Regions from separate parts of the Homo sapiens genome. Here region 1 is linked to region 2. The links are contacts of gene promoters, found by promoter capture Hi-C in human tissues and cell types (Jung and others, 2019). All regions are on one chromosome and are shown on one strand. The core of a region is centred on a gene start or on the middle of the fragment in contact, and the rest is flanking DNA. Distances in the headings are between cores, read along the strand shown.

Region 1 (6,843 bases), core at 865-3,364, 310 kb after region 2:
GGGAGCTCGAGGTAGGTGGATCACCTGAGGTCAGGAGTTCCAGACCAGCCTGACCAGCATGGTGAAACACCATCTCTACTAAAAATATAAAAAATCAGCCATGCGTGGTGGCGCATGCCTGTAATCCCAGCTCAGGAGGCTGAAGCAGGAGAATCGCTTGAACCCGGGAGACGAAGGGTGCAGTGAGCTGACATTGCGCCATTGCACTCCAGCCTGGGCAATAAGAGCAAAACTCTGTCTCAAAAACAAAAACAAAAAACAGATGATACACATCTGTGTTTAGAAGCACCCTGTGCTCACCTCTATCATCTAACATATCTCTGTGTTGTACTTATCAGTTTACTGTGTTCCTTGTTAACCTATTACCCTACGACTAGAGTTTAGCACAGTGGTTGGTATATGGCCAGGACTCAATAAATTCTCATTGCTTGCAGAATTGCCCTGACCTGGGCCACGTATTTAGAGAAAACTTCTGGCTCTCTTCGAGGCTCTTTCCTCTACAAAAAATGAGTAACCCATGGGGCCAAGGAGATATGCTCACCCAAAGCCTAGTTTCCCTCTTCTGGAGTCTAGACCATGTTCAGGGTACCAATACCCCTGGAATTTACTGCCCAAATGACACCATGGCCTGCATGAGCCCTTCTCAGCTTTCACCTGAGGGCAGACCCAGCTGCTAATGTGAGCACTCCTCGATCTGAAAAGGTGGCAAAGGCATGGCTGCTTGCAGAGGTACGGGCAGACGTTGGATGTGGCTTGGAGTATCAGGATGGTATACAAGGCTCCTGGCAGGGAATGCAGGTGGGCACCAGAAACCAGAAAAGAAAGGGAAGTGGGAAAAGACTGGGAGCCATTTCTCCCCACACTGCCATATTCCAGCTGTGTTTCCAGGTATTCTAAGGAGTCTAGGGATTCTGAAGATGAACCTGGCCTTCTACATCATTATGAGGGTCTATTTGTCAATGTAGGAAAACAGACTATATTTTACTTTACAATTTGTTGCTTGATTTATAACTAAAATATTTAAACATACGGTGTGCTGGACTCCATTTGTACTCTTACCCAGGGCCTGCAAATGTTAGGAGCTGGCCTGACCAAGGGAATAAAGATTACGAAAATGTTCACCTTATTTTATTTTATTTTATTTTTTTGAGACAGCGTCTCGCTCTGTCGCCCAGGCTGGAAAGCAGTGGCACAATCTCGGCTCACTGCCACCTCCGCCTCCTGGGTTCCAGCGATTCTCCTGCCTCAGCCTCCCGAGTAGCTGGGATTACAGGCGCCCACCACCACGCCCGGCTACTTTTTTTGTATTTTTAGTAGAGACGGGGTTTCACCCTGTTGGCCAGGCTGGTCTCCAACTCCTGATCGCAGGTGATCCGCCCACCTCGGCTCCCAAAGTGTTGGGATTACAGGCGTAAGCCACAGCACCGGCCGACCTTATTTTGTGGTTATAGAGGGTACATTTTATAAAATTACTGCCACGGAGTGGGTAAGGCTCCTTTTCTTCAAGCCGCACAGAACGAATGTTCAGCGGTGCAATTTCATTGCAATCTATTTTTGCTTCACTTTGCTCATAATGACTCTTTTAGGATTTCCTCAGGTAACAATCTTCTTTCAATGTTCAATAATCCAAGCAGAACATTTTCTCACTTCATCCGCCTCCCATGCTAGGTTCACACTGTGAAATTGGCTTATCTCTGACCTAACCACTTCCTTCACCAGACATAGAGCTGGTGTAGCTCAAGGGAAAGAGGCACGGCGCTGGGAAATGATTAGGCCCCACCGTCCCAAGCAAGAGCTCAGGGGAGTTCTGAGGCTGGAGAGACCATTCGGGATATCACCCCGGGTTCCTGAGAACCTGAGATCTGCGGGGAGGCGTCAGGCATCCGGAAACGCCCGAGTCTGGGGAGACGGACCCCCTCAGACTTTCCTCTAGGAGACTCTACAGGTAAAGGGGAGTCCTGGGACTCGAGGGGAGCCCCGGCATCCAAAGGTAAGATCAGTTTTGCTCACCTGGCCGGGCGGCGTTGCGTCGCCTTGGTAACCACAACTTCCGGCTTGAACCGGAAGTCCGCGAAGTTGCTCTACAGAAAGTGTGCCCGCCCCCTCTGGGGCGGAGAGACTCAGCCCCTCCCCCTCAGCGGATAACCTGGGACTGACCGTTCCCTGGGGATCCGACGGGCCCCAGAGGACCCACGCCTGAGCCCCGTGCGACTCGTGGCCTTTGGGCTAGAAGCCATGGACGCCTTCACCCGCTTCACCAACCAGACCCAGGGCCGGGACCGACTCTTCAGGTGAGTCAGGTGCCAGCGGCCTCCGCCCCTTTCTCGCCCTAACTCGGCTCCCGTGCCTATTCCCCTGCACCCGGGAAAAAGGAGGTGATAGCCTAGTAGATGGAAGCAGGAAGGACGTTGCCAGCTCCTACGGAGGGAGTTTAGTATCCGAGCCCCTCCTTACCCTAAATTCAACGTGAGTGGGCCCAACGCACCCGCGTCCCGTCCTAGCCCCGTGCACGAAAGCCCCAGTGCCTGGCACCCTAGCCGCCTCGAGACCGCCGACGACGGGACACCGGCTGACAGATCCTCCTCCCCTCCTAACTTTGCTCTCCGGGCACAGAAAGATTGGTTCTCTCCACTCAACATTCTTCCGAGGGATCTCCTTTAAAGAGAAACTTTGGATTAGTATTTGTGGCTAGGGAAGCAAACCACTTGGTGTGACTTCAAATATCTCTCTTTTTTTTTTCTTTTGAGACGGAGTCTCGCTCTGTCGCCCAGGCAGTGGCGCGGTCTCGGCCCACTGCAACCTCTGCCTCCCGGGTTCAAGCGATTCTCCTGCCTCAGCCTCCTGAGTAGCTGGGATTACAGGCGTGCACTACCACGCCCGGCTACTTTTTGTATTTTTAGTAGAGACGGGGGTTTCGCCATGTTGGCCAGGCTGGTCTCGAACTCCTGACCTCAGGTGATCTGTCCACCTCGGCTTCCCAAAGTGCTGGGATTACAGGTGCGAGCCACCGCGCCCGGTCTCAAATACCTCTTGAAATGTTTGAGGAGAGACAGAAGTTCTCTTCCATTATTACCCAGGCTGTATCATTGAGATACTGCATGTGGAATAGTTTTGTAAATTGTAAAACAAAATATAGCGGGGATGAGACCACACCAACTGGATTGGGGGGAAATACAGTGGGGAGAAGCTCAGAAAGAACTAACTGCACCTCTAAGGTTCATGCTGTGCTACTGAAAATATTAAACAGAGATTGTGTCTCTTTTTCTTTTGGTTCCATAAGAAACGAAAAGAACTGAGAGATTGTATCTTTAATACGAATACAGTACTAGTTCATGATGTTTTAGAGATTTGGTTGATTCTTGCTTAATGAAAAAATATTTACAGTTGCAGTTTTATTTAACAGCTCTGCATTCTCTTCTGGGTGTGCAAGTGCTGATACAAACAGATCAATTAGAATGGCCCCAATAATGAGGCTTTTGGAAGCCATCTTTATGACAGCTATTGTTCCCAGTGTTTTGCAACTATGAACTTATATAACCCTCATCACAACCCTATGAGGTAGATACTCTAAATATTTTACCCACTTCAGATGGAGAAACTGAAGCAGAAAGAGGTTAATAGGTACTACAATGGCAGAACTGAGGGATTCACATCCACGCAAATGACTCCAGTGCCCACTTAACTACCAAGCTATACTGGCTTTCTCATTAGTTTGATAGGTTTTTTAAATGGTTACTTTATATACAAGCTTCATTAAATAGAAATTTCATTAAATAGAAACCTGTAATTCCAGTGTACCTAGAATGTACCCTGCAGGGTTTATCAAGGAAGTTGGTTAAAAAAATAATCATTTAGGCCGGGTGCAGTGGCTTACACCTGTAATCCCAGCACTTTGGGAGGCTGAGGTGGGCGGATCACAAAGTCAGGAGATCGAGACCATCCTGGCTAACATGGTGAAACCCTGTCTCTACTAAAAATACAAAAATTAGCTGGGCGTTGTGGTGGGCGCCTGCAGTCCCAGCTACTCAGGAGGCTGAGGCAGGAGAATGGCATGAGCCCAGGAGGCAAAGCTTGCAGTGAGCCAAGATCACGCCACTGCACTCCAGCCTGGGCAACAGAGCGAGACTCCTTCTAAAAAAAAAATAAAAACATTAAAAATAATAATCATCATCATTTAGGCCGGGTTCAGTGACTCACACCTGTAGTCCCAGCACTTTGGGAGGCTGAGGTGGGCAGATCATGAGGTCAGGAGTTCGGGACCAGCCTGGCCAACATGGTGAAACCCCATCTCTACTAAATATGCAAAAATTAGCTGGGCGTGATGGCACATGCCTGTAATCCCAGCTACTCAGGAGGCTGAGGCAGGAGAATCGCTTGAATCCGGGAGGCGGAGTTTGCAGAGAGCCAAGAACGCACCACTACCCTCCAGCCTGGGCAACAGAGCGAGACTCTGTCTCGAAAAATAATAATAATAATAATTTAAGATATGTTTATTCCAAAAGATCTGAGATCTCTAGCATTCATTTCCCAACCTCCTTGATGATCTGTATAACCTTTATGACCACACTGGCATTCATAAAATAATACCTTGCTTTCTGTGCCAATAATGCTCATGCAAACACGGTGAACATTCCTAAAACCTGTCAGACTGTAAGAAGTGTGGCAAGCACCAACCCCACAAAGTGACATAGTACAAGAAGAGCAAGGATTCTCTGTATGCCCAGGGAAAGCAGCATTATGACAGGAAGCAGAGTGGCTGTGGTGGGCAGACTAAGCCGATTTTCCAGAAAAAGTCTAAAACTACCAAGAAGTTTGTGCTAAAGCTTGAGTGTGTTGAGCCCAGTGAAGATCTAAGAGAATCCTGGCTATTAAAAGATGCCAGCATTTTGAACTGGGAGGAGATAAGAAGAGAAAGGGCCAAGTGATCCAGTTCTAAGTATCATCTTTTGTTTTATTATGAAGACAATAAAATCGAGTTTATGTTCACTTCAAAAATAAATAAATAAAAGTAATGTCTTACTGTTGGCCTGATCCTTATTATTAGACCAAAGCTCAGAAAGGCAGAATCATTGACATGACCAGTCCTGTAACCAGGAAGGACACTTAAAAAAGAGAAAGCGATTGTTTATGATTCCAGTCTTCTCTTTTTATTTCATTCCTAGTAACAAGTTCACTATTTTAGAAAATGAAAATGTACCGCATTTTTATTGAGAATAATATTTATAGCATAAAGGGATTCAAATGCACTTACAAGACAGTAGGAACCAGGCACCTACTTTATTAGTAGATTGCCAAATGGATTTGGATGTGTGACTATGTGATGTAAAATTTCTCCTACATTTATATTAGTAAGTCATTGTTATTTGTAAGCATGACAATAATCACTTTATTAAATATATAGTATTATTAAGCAGGATTCTGCCTGTATTTTATGTAAAATACGAATAAGTTTTGAAAGACAACTATGAAAACATATTTATACTAATTTATGTACTGATGTGTATTTGGTCCTTTCGTTTATAAAAAATTAAACAATCTTTAAACTGTGGACTTTTCATTTGGTTCTGGTTTGAGTTTGTGTCCTGTCACATAGATGGTAGGTTAAGTACATGGTAGAAAAGTTCATTTTAGAAATCTGAAAATCAGGCCAGGCACAGTAGCTTATGCCTGCAATCCCAGCACTTTGGGAGGTTGAGTAGGGCAGATCACGAGGTCAGGAGATCGAGACCAGCCATGACCAAAATGGCACAACCCCGTGTCTATTAAAAATACAAAAATTAGCTGGGCGTGGTGGCACACACCTGTAATCCCAGCTACTCGGGAGGCTGAGACAGGAGAATCGCTTGAACCAGGGAGGCAGAGGTTGCAGTGGAGCCAAGATCACACCACAGCACTCCAGCCTGGCGAAAGAGCGAGACTCGATCAAAAACAAACAAAAAAAAAACAAAGAAAGAAATCTACACTGGGGAAGAGAAGGAATATGGATCTTTGTAGACTTAACATGAGGGAGATTTTGTACAGTTTCTCACTTTGACTATATCCATTTCTCTGTGCCAGCAAAAGGCCTTTTGGAGGCACATTGGCTGCATTATTGCAGAATTTGTTTTCATTACCTTTGTGTTAAATTTCCATGACATGTTCTACCCTTTGGCTCTCCTGTAGAATGACTGTTGCAGAATTTTGCTTTTGTAAGAGTTGCTACATGAGAAATGGTCTTGGAAATGTTGTCTGGAGGCATGTGTTTCTCTTTCCCTTACTTCCTGAATTAAGTTTTATTTGGTTTGTAAATCATTCTTCTCAATTTTTTTTTTTCCATTTCAGAGCCACTCAGTACACATGCATGTTGCTTAGATATTTGTTAGAGCCCAAAGCTGGCAAAGAGAAGGTGGTAATGAAGCTCAAGAAACTGGAGTCCAGTGTGAGCACTGGTCGTAAATGTAAGTACCCTGTTTCTTGAGGGACAGTGACTCCTGGTTTAGAATCCTCAGCCTCAGACCCTGTAATTCACGGAGTAATTTCTAGGTCATTAATTTCTAGTCAATCAAGTTTATTGGTGAAATTGACCAGTAAGGCTGTCCTCATGGCACAACAGGTTTGAATGTGTTGCTGCAGACCATTCATAAACACCCTCTTATGTTCACATCTGGTGCTACACCTTATCTTTCTGCTGAATCATAACCAGTGAGACAGACAACGTGTTAGTTCACCTTTAGTTCTTAGAATCATAGTATGTTTTAGCAGTCTCTGACATGAGCTTCTGCTCCTGTGAGCCCCTTTATTCTAAACAAGAGTGGAATAGTTATATCCTAGACCACCTGCCTTTTTCCTTTATTGAGGAGTGCT
Region 2 (6,782 bases), core at 3,817-6,316:
GCAGGCAGGTAATGTTTACACATGTGGCAAACAGCCTCTGGTGGTATCAAGGCCAAAAAGGACATTTCTTAGTTTTAAAATTCCCACTAGTTTCAAATATATGCCAACTAAACTTTAACCTGAAAAGCAATCTTTGCCCATAAAAAGATCTCCTACATCTTTATCAAGTGCAAAATAGCCCTAATCTCACAACAGCCACTCTGCTTGAGGAACAGTTAGGCCCCTAAAATAAGCATTCCCTTATAGGCCTCACTGGGTGAACCCTCTTCAGGCACACTCCCTGACCAGCCTCCCTCTGCTGCAGACCCACAATTTCTTCTTTAGTTTTTCTGCTGCTGTCCTTCCAAGGAACCCCAAAGTGCTGAACGCCCAACTCTTTGGCATGGGCAGAGACATATGACCACATCATCGTTCCTGAGAGGCAAAGTTTGAAGTTAGACAGCCTGGGTTTAGATACCAGCTCTGTGCCCTTGGACAAGTTATTTAACTCCTCTGCCAAATGAGGATAAGAATGCAAGAGCCAGCACCTGCAAGAACTAAGAGAGACAAATACACAAAGCACGTAGCATAATTCTGGCCTAAGACACATGATTATTATTATTCTCCCTATATTCTGAGTCCAATTCAAAACCTATTGTTTTAGGCCGGGTGCAGTGGCTCACGCCTGTAATCCCAGCACTTTGGGAGGCCGAGGCGGGCAGATCACGAGGTGAAGAGATCGAGACCATCCTGGCCAACCTGGTGAAACCCCGTCTCTACTAAAAATATAAAAATTAGGCTGGGTGTAGTGGCGCATGCCTGTAGTCCCAGCTACTCAGGAGGCTGAGGCAGGAGAATCGCTTGAAGCCAGGAGGCGAAGGTTGCAGTGAGCTGAGATCGCGCCACTGCACTCCAGCCTGGTGAAAGAGTGAGACTCCGTCTCAAAAAAAGAAAAAAAAAATCTAAAAAAACCTATTGTTTTGCACAAGTCTCCACCCAGGGGCTCCACCCCATTCAGGATCCTCTCTTCCCAGCCCCCTCCTGCCTCACCTGTCTGGAGCTTGTTTGAAGCAATGACTCACAGCACAACTCTGCAGCTCCCATCAATCACCTCCCTGTCCCTGCCTGTGTCATTCATGGGTTCCTTCTGGCAGGCAAATCTTCCCTAATGTCCAGTACATTCATTCAGCAAGTATCTACTGAGGGCCCACTATAGATCAGACCCTATTCTAGGCACAGGGGCTCCGCAATGAACAAAGCAAAGACGTCTACCCTCACAAACGTTCTAGTACATTTAACCCACAGATGGAAATCAGTTCAGGTCTTGGGTCCTTACACTCCTTCTCTTCTCTCCTGACCAATCCTAAATAAATCACATACAAGTCAAAGTATGAAGAAAGCATTCCAGATCAAAAAATGGTGTGATGTGAGAAAATCCCGATGACTAAACTGCTTCTCTGATTGTTGGACTTTGAAGAAGTCAGTGTTGAAACAGCCTGAATCACCCAGTTCCCCCTAGTTGTCTCACTGGCCAGTCACATCCTCCAGCACAGTTTCTGTAACACATCTGGAAAATGAGGCGCTCCATTTACCCAACTCGTGTGCGGCGTGAGCGCACGGTTTCATGCTCTCATAGCTACATTCTTTGAAGTGAGCTTGATTCGGGATCCCCAGCAGTAGCAGAGACAGTGGCCTTGTAGAAACAGCACTGGGAACAGGCTCTGAAAGCTCAGGTTGAGTGCTGGCTCTGCCACTTACTGTGTAATCCTGGGTACAGAGCTTTCTTCCTGCCTCAGTTGCTTTCAGACAATCTCTAAGGCCTTCTTCCAGCTTTGAAGTCAAAGGGCTGGGAGCAAGCACCATTAACAGCAGGCCCAGCACATTCACAGATTCCTTATTTCAACATAATGAGTCCTGCCGCGGGCTAGGCCCTGGCTAGGCCTGAGGAACGAGGGTATGGGAGGGGTCAGCAAGCCAGATTATGAGCCTGCGCCAAGCATCAGCACTGGTGGGGCCAGGGAGCTGACTTCACTTGTCTCCTCCAAGATGCGCTGGACTCCTCCTTTATTTATTTATTTACTCCCTTCTAGAAAGAAGTTGTGCTTCTTTCCAAACACAACTCTGCTAGAAATATCTCTGGGCCACAAGGCAAACCTAAAATAGAAGTGCAAAATCTCTGGTGGTCCCATTAGTCTCCCTTCCTCCAACTCAAAAACCATTCCAGACCTTGTCTGTCTCCTTGTCTCTAGACAGTGAGCCTAAAATAAGTCTCCCTGGTAGGAAATGCCTGGTTGGAATGGAAATGACCCAAGCCCTGGAAAAATGGCCCGCTGACCACACACCGTGGGCTGAGGACTCACCCAGGTATCAGCTCTGAGAAGACAAGCAAGTGAGCCCGCGTCCCACTTCAACTCACTGCAGCCCCCTCCACCAAGACACAGGCAACCAGGCCAGGCTGGAGGAAGAAAATGTGACCCAAACATCCAATTCCCCCTACCCAAAAGAAAGCAGCTCTATCCCCACGGCCCTCATGCAGGAAAGCCAGCTCCAGAAGGTCACTGGGGCACCAGGTGGGCACCTCTCTGGAGCTACAGATGACCGATCAGAGGTTCTGCTCCGAGACTGGCAGGTACCCAGCACAGTTACCCTGGCCTGAGGGTCAGCTAATAAAACCAATGAGAAAGTATAGAAAATAACATTCTCTTTAAAACAAATGAGAAAGGAATGGCCACTCTAGGTTTTCAGAAGTCAAAACCAGATAGCCCCATCGGCTTTGATCACATTAGGAATACACTGTCTCTTATCTAACGAGTTAAGAACGGTTTTCTTCTTCCCTTCTCCCACGTGGCCCCATTGGTTCTCTAGGCCCCCTGGTGAAGATGCAATAGGGACACAGACCCCCAGCCCTCTACTTGGCAGAAATGAACTTTGACTGGTTTTACTTACACGTGTACAAATGCAGGACTGAGAGGGCAGCTTCAAAGCTGGCTGAGTGACCCCCAAGAGCACAAAGTCCTTCTCCGCACACCTGTGGGGGAGTTTTGTGAATTTCCCAGATGCCCACAGGGACTAGTTATGTACACTGCAGGTCGATACCGGCCGGGAGTTTCCATTTTGCACAGCAAGAAAGGTGCTCAGGGTGCCCTTTGCAGGTGGGCACTCGGCCTGCAGCTCAAGGGTGGGCCATGACGTTGGTCCCTCACTGGATTGCCCGGCAGGCCTCCCTCAGACCCAGTAGGACGAGTACCTCGAAGAGTCCTTGTGATCCCAGCACTTTGGGAGGCCGGGGCGGGCGGATCACGAGGTCAGGAGTTTGAGACCAGCCTGGCCAATATGGTGAAACCCCGTCTCTCCTAAAAATAATTAAAAATTAAACGGGCGTGGTGGCGTGCGCCTGTAGTCCCAGCTATTGGGGAGGTTGAGGCAGGAGAATCGCTTGAACCCGGGAGACGGAGGCTGCAGTGAGCCGAGATCGCGCCACTGCACTCCAGCCTGGGCGACAGAGCAAGACTCCATATCAAGAAAAAAGAAAAGGCACCCCGGATACTGCTACGCCTTGCCCTAACCGTCTCGCAAATCCTAGAGATACATGAATGACCCTTTCAGGTTGGTTAAAATCCACACAAGCACCTCCCTGGCCTCTTAAATCTTTCCAAACTACAGCTTAGACTGGAGGGAAGCAGTTGCAGCGCCCATAAAAGTCATCTTAAAAGGCAAGTTGGAAAAAAACCCGATACGCACTAGTTAGCAAGTCCGCGGTGAAGGGGGCGGTGGCCCAAGGGCCGGATCTGCGGGATCTGTGCGCCTAGGGTGGGGAGGCTGGGGCTGCCCCGTCGGTCCCCGAGCCCGCGCGCCCACCTGGTAGCCTGAGGGCCCCGATCTGACGCTGGTGCTCACGCCCCACAGCTCCATCCAATTAGGAAAATGACCGCGAGAAGACGGAGAGAGGGCGACGAGGAGGAAGGGGGGCTGAGCCGCGGGAGGCTCAAGACGGGCCGTAGGGACCCCGCCCGCCACCCCCACCCCCACGCCCCCAGACAGCGAGCGCCGGTCCTGGGTCCCCGGCCCGCGGCGCCCCGACGCTGTCCCGGCGGAGATCCCGCGGCGCCCAGCGTGCGGCGGCCAGTGGCCCTCGGGGACGCCCCCAGCCCCGCCAGCGGCGCGCTCAGCTCTCCCCCACCCCCGGCCGGCTGGGACGCGCAACAACCCCACCCGCTCCGAGAATAAAGTTTGTGGGCAGCCGTAGGGGCGGGGCGGCGAGGGGGTGAAACTTTGAGTCCCGGGCCGGGTGTGGGGGGAGCGCACCCAGCACCGGGACACCCACGTGCGGGCCCGAGAGCCTCCGCCACCGTCGCCTCCCGGGCCTCCCGCGCCGCCGCCGCCGCCGCCGCGACGCTTTCCTTTCATTTTTGCCTCTCTCTCTCTCTCTCTCTCTCTCTCTCTCATTCGCGCGCTCTCCTCCCTCTCGCCCTCTTTCGCTCGCTCCCTCCCTCTCCCTTCCCCCTCCCCCTCCTCTCCCTCCCCCCCACCCCAGACGCCATCTCTCCCTCTTTCCCCGGCTCTCCCTCTCTCCCTCCAGCTCTCCGGCATGAGGGAATGTGGAAGTGAAAGGAAAAGACGACATGTTTGCAGCGCGGCGCGGGCCTGCGCGCGGCCGTCCCCAGGGAGAGGCGGGGGGCGGGTCGGCCGCGGCCGCAGCGACCCACCCCCGCGCCCCCCGCGCCCCCGCCGGCCGGCAGCGCGGGGCTGCGGGGCTGGGGCTGGGGCTGGGGCGGGGGGCCGCGCGGGACACTCACCCTGGGTCCGGGCGCGGCTCCTGCGCTGGGGCCCTCGGCGGGCCGGGCCGGGCCGGGCCGGGGGCTCCTGGCTGCCCACCGCCCGGGCTGCTGCTGTGCGCCCGCCGCCCGCCTCCACGCGCGCCCGCCGCCTGCTCCTGCCGCCCTCCCTCCGGCTCCTCTCTTTCTCTCTCTCCCCCCTCCTCTCGCTCGCTCTCTCGCTCGCGCTCTCTCCCTCCCTGGAAGAAGGGAATGAGGCAGGGCTGACGTGAAGGGATGCAAAACAGCTCCTCCTAAGCCAGCTCGCAGAGGAAGAGAGAGACAGAAAAGCAGCCCTTTTATCTCTCTTTTGTTTTCTCACTTCCTTCCACCCCCAACACCTCCCTCTTGTCAGCCCAAGTTTTCTTTTCTCTTTCTACCGCAGAGGATTTTTCTTCCTTTCTTTCTCTTTCTTTCGGTTCAACTCTCCCACTCGAATTGAAAGCCTGAAGGGTTTTCTTTCTCCTGTTTTTTTCTTCCCTCTTTTCTTCCTTCTTCCTCCTTTCTTATTTCTCTAAAAGGGTTTTGTTTGCTGTGGGAGTTTCGTTTGAAAATCAAGTCACGCCTTTTTTCCTTCTTTTCTTTCTTTCTCTCTCTCTCTTTTTTTTTTCTCCTCTCAGCAGAAAAGGGGAACAAAGATTAACTGAAGCGGGGAAGAGGCAGACCTCGCTTGGAAATGGGGGGCCCGGCCCTGTCCGGTACAAAGGGGGCCCGGGGGCCCTGCGCCCCGCCCCCCCCAAGGGAAGCCAGGGGCGTCCTCTGGAGAGGAGAGCCGGTGCGGGTGTTGGGGCACGGGTGCGGCTCCTGGGTGCCGGTTCCTTCCCAAGTGCGAGCGAGGGCCGCCGAGCCCGCCCCTCCCCAGCCAGAGGTGGCAAGCTGGGTGTGTGTGCTTCACTTATGTATTTTTAAAGTAGGCAGATGGGCCTGGAACAAACATCCCCGCAGAGCACTGAACAGCAAAAGCCTTTAAACAGCTGTTAGCAGAGCCCTGGACGGCCTGACTCGAGGGAGCGGCGCGGGCTCCGAGCGCCAGGGCCCGGGTGGAGAAGGGGCTCAGGGCAGCTGCTGGGATCGGCGGGCTGGCGGGGTCCCCGAGCCCAGGGCCTGGGCCTCGGCCCCGGGGCGCACTGCTGGGGGGCGCCGAGGCGTGGTCGCTGGCAGCGCGGCCGTCAGGTCCCTCTCGGCTCCCTGAGGGGCCGCGGGGTTTGGCACAGCCTCGCCGCCCTCCAGCTCCGGCGCAGGCCGGACACCAGGCCTCCAACCTCCAGAACACCCGCCACTCCGAGCCGTTTCTCGACTGCAACGCAGGGCGGGTCCGGAGCCCTCGGACAGAGCCGGGCAGTGCCGCCAGGAAGGGTCAATTATTCATGGGGCGCCCGGGCGTGCTCCCAAGACCTGCTCTGTCCTCGGGTTCTCCGGAGGAGTGGGGAGAAGACGGGGGAAAGTTCCCAAAGCAAAGTTGGTCACATTTGTCATTTTCCCAAGTAAGTATTGAGCACCTGCTGGATGCCGGGCCCTCGGACTGGGGCTGCAGCCAGGGGGAGAAACGTGAGGTCTCGGTGGGCCCCGAGAGCAAACTCAGGGAACAATGCAAGGGAAGCTGCGGCTCAGGACCAGGTCACCGGGAGGAAGGAAAGCCTGGATCCTCTCCCCTCCCTCTTCCCTTCCTTCCCTTCCCTTCCTTCCTCCCGGCTGCATCTCCTTGGCTCCACCCCTTCTCCTCATCAATTCCTCCCACACTTCCCTGCTCTCCCTGGCTTTTCACTGAAGGGTCCCTTCTCCCAGGGAGGAGCAGATGCTGAGCCCCATTGTCTCTCCCCCAGTGACTGCAGCCTCCCGGGGACACGACCTGCCACTCCTCACCCCTCCCCCCAGCCCTGAGCCCTGGGCCTTTAGAAACGAGAGCCCCAAGGCCACGGCCCCTCGCCCCACCCTAAACCAGCTCCTGGTGCTCTGAGCTATGACTCCAGTCACTCAGAACACATTTGT

The links. Contacts are between HindIII fragments. The study calls those that stand out against the background at their distance.
Region 1: the fragment with the promoter of PEX11A here is called in contact with the fragment with the promoter of ZNF710 in region 2 in 1 of the 25 tissues and cell types used here (lymphoblastoid cells).

What each region holds. Positions count from the first base shown.
Region 1 is chr15:89,686,025-89,692,867 of GRCh38, reverse strand. PEX11A (peroxisomal biogenesis factor 11 alpha) reads left to right here and starts at 2,114. Exons shown (of 3, transcript NM_003847.3): 1 at 2,114-2,291; 2 at 6,322-6,437. The coding sequence starts at 2,236. It overlaps WDR93 (WD repeat domain 93), which reads right to left and starts at 2,057. Exons shown (of 17, transcript NM_020212.2): 1 at 2,011-2,057. It also overlaps the pseudogene RPL36AP43. RefSeq lists an enhancer at 2,190-2,279. The HindIII fragment of the contact is 14,807 bases long and covers 1-3,909 here.
Region 2 is chr15:89,999,608-90,006,389 of GRCh38, reverse strand. It overlaps ZNF710 (zinc finger protein 710), which reads right to left and starts at 5,066. Exons shown (of 5, transcript NM_198526.4): 1 at 4,776-5,066. RefSeq lists enhancers at 2,717-3,484, 3,485-4,253 and silencers at 3,953-4,452, 4,868-5,036, 5,445-5,614. The HindIII fragment of the contact is 12,330 bases long and covers 1-6,782 here.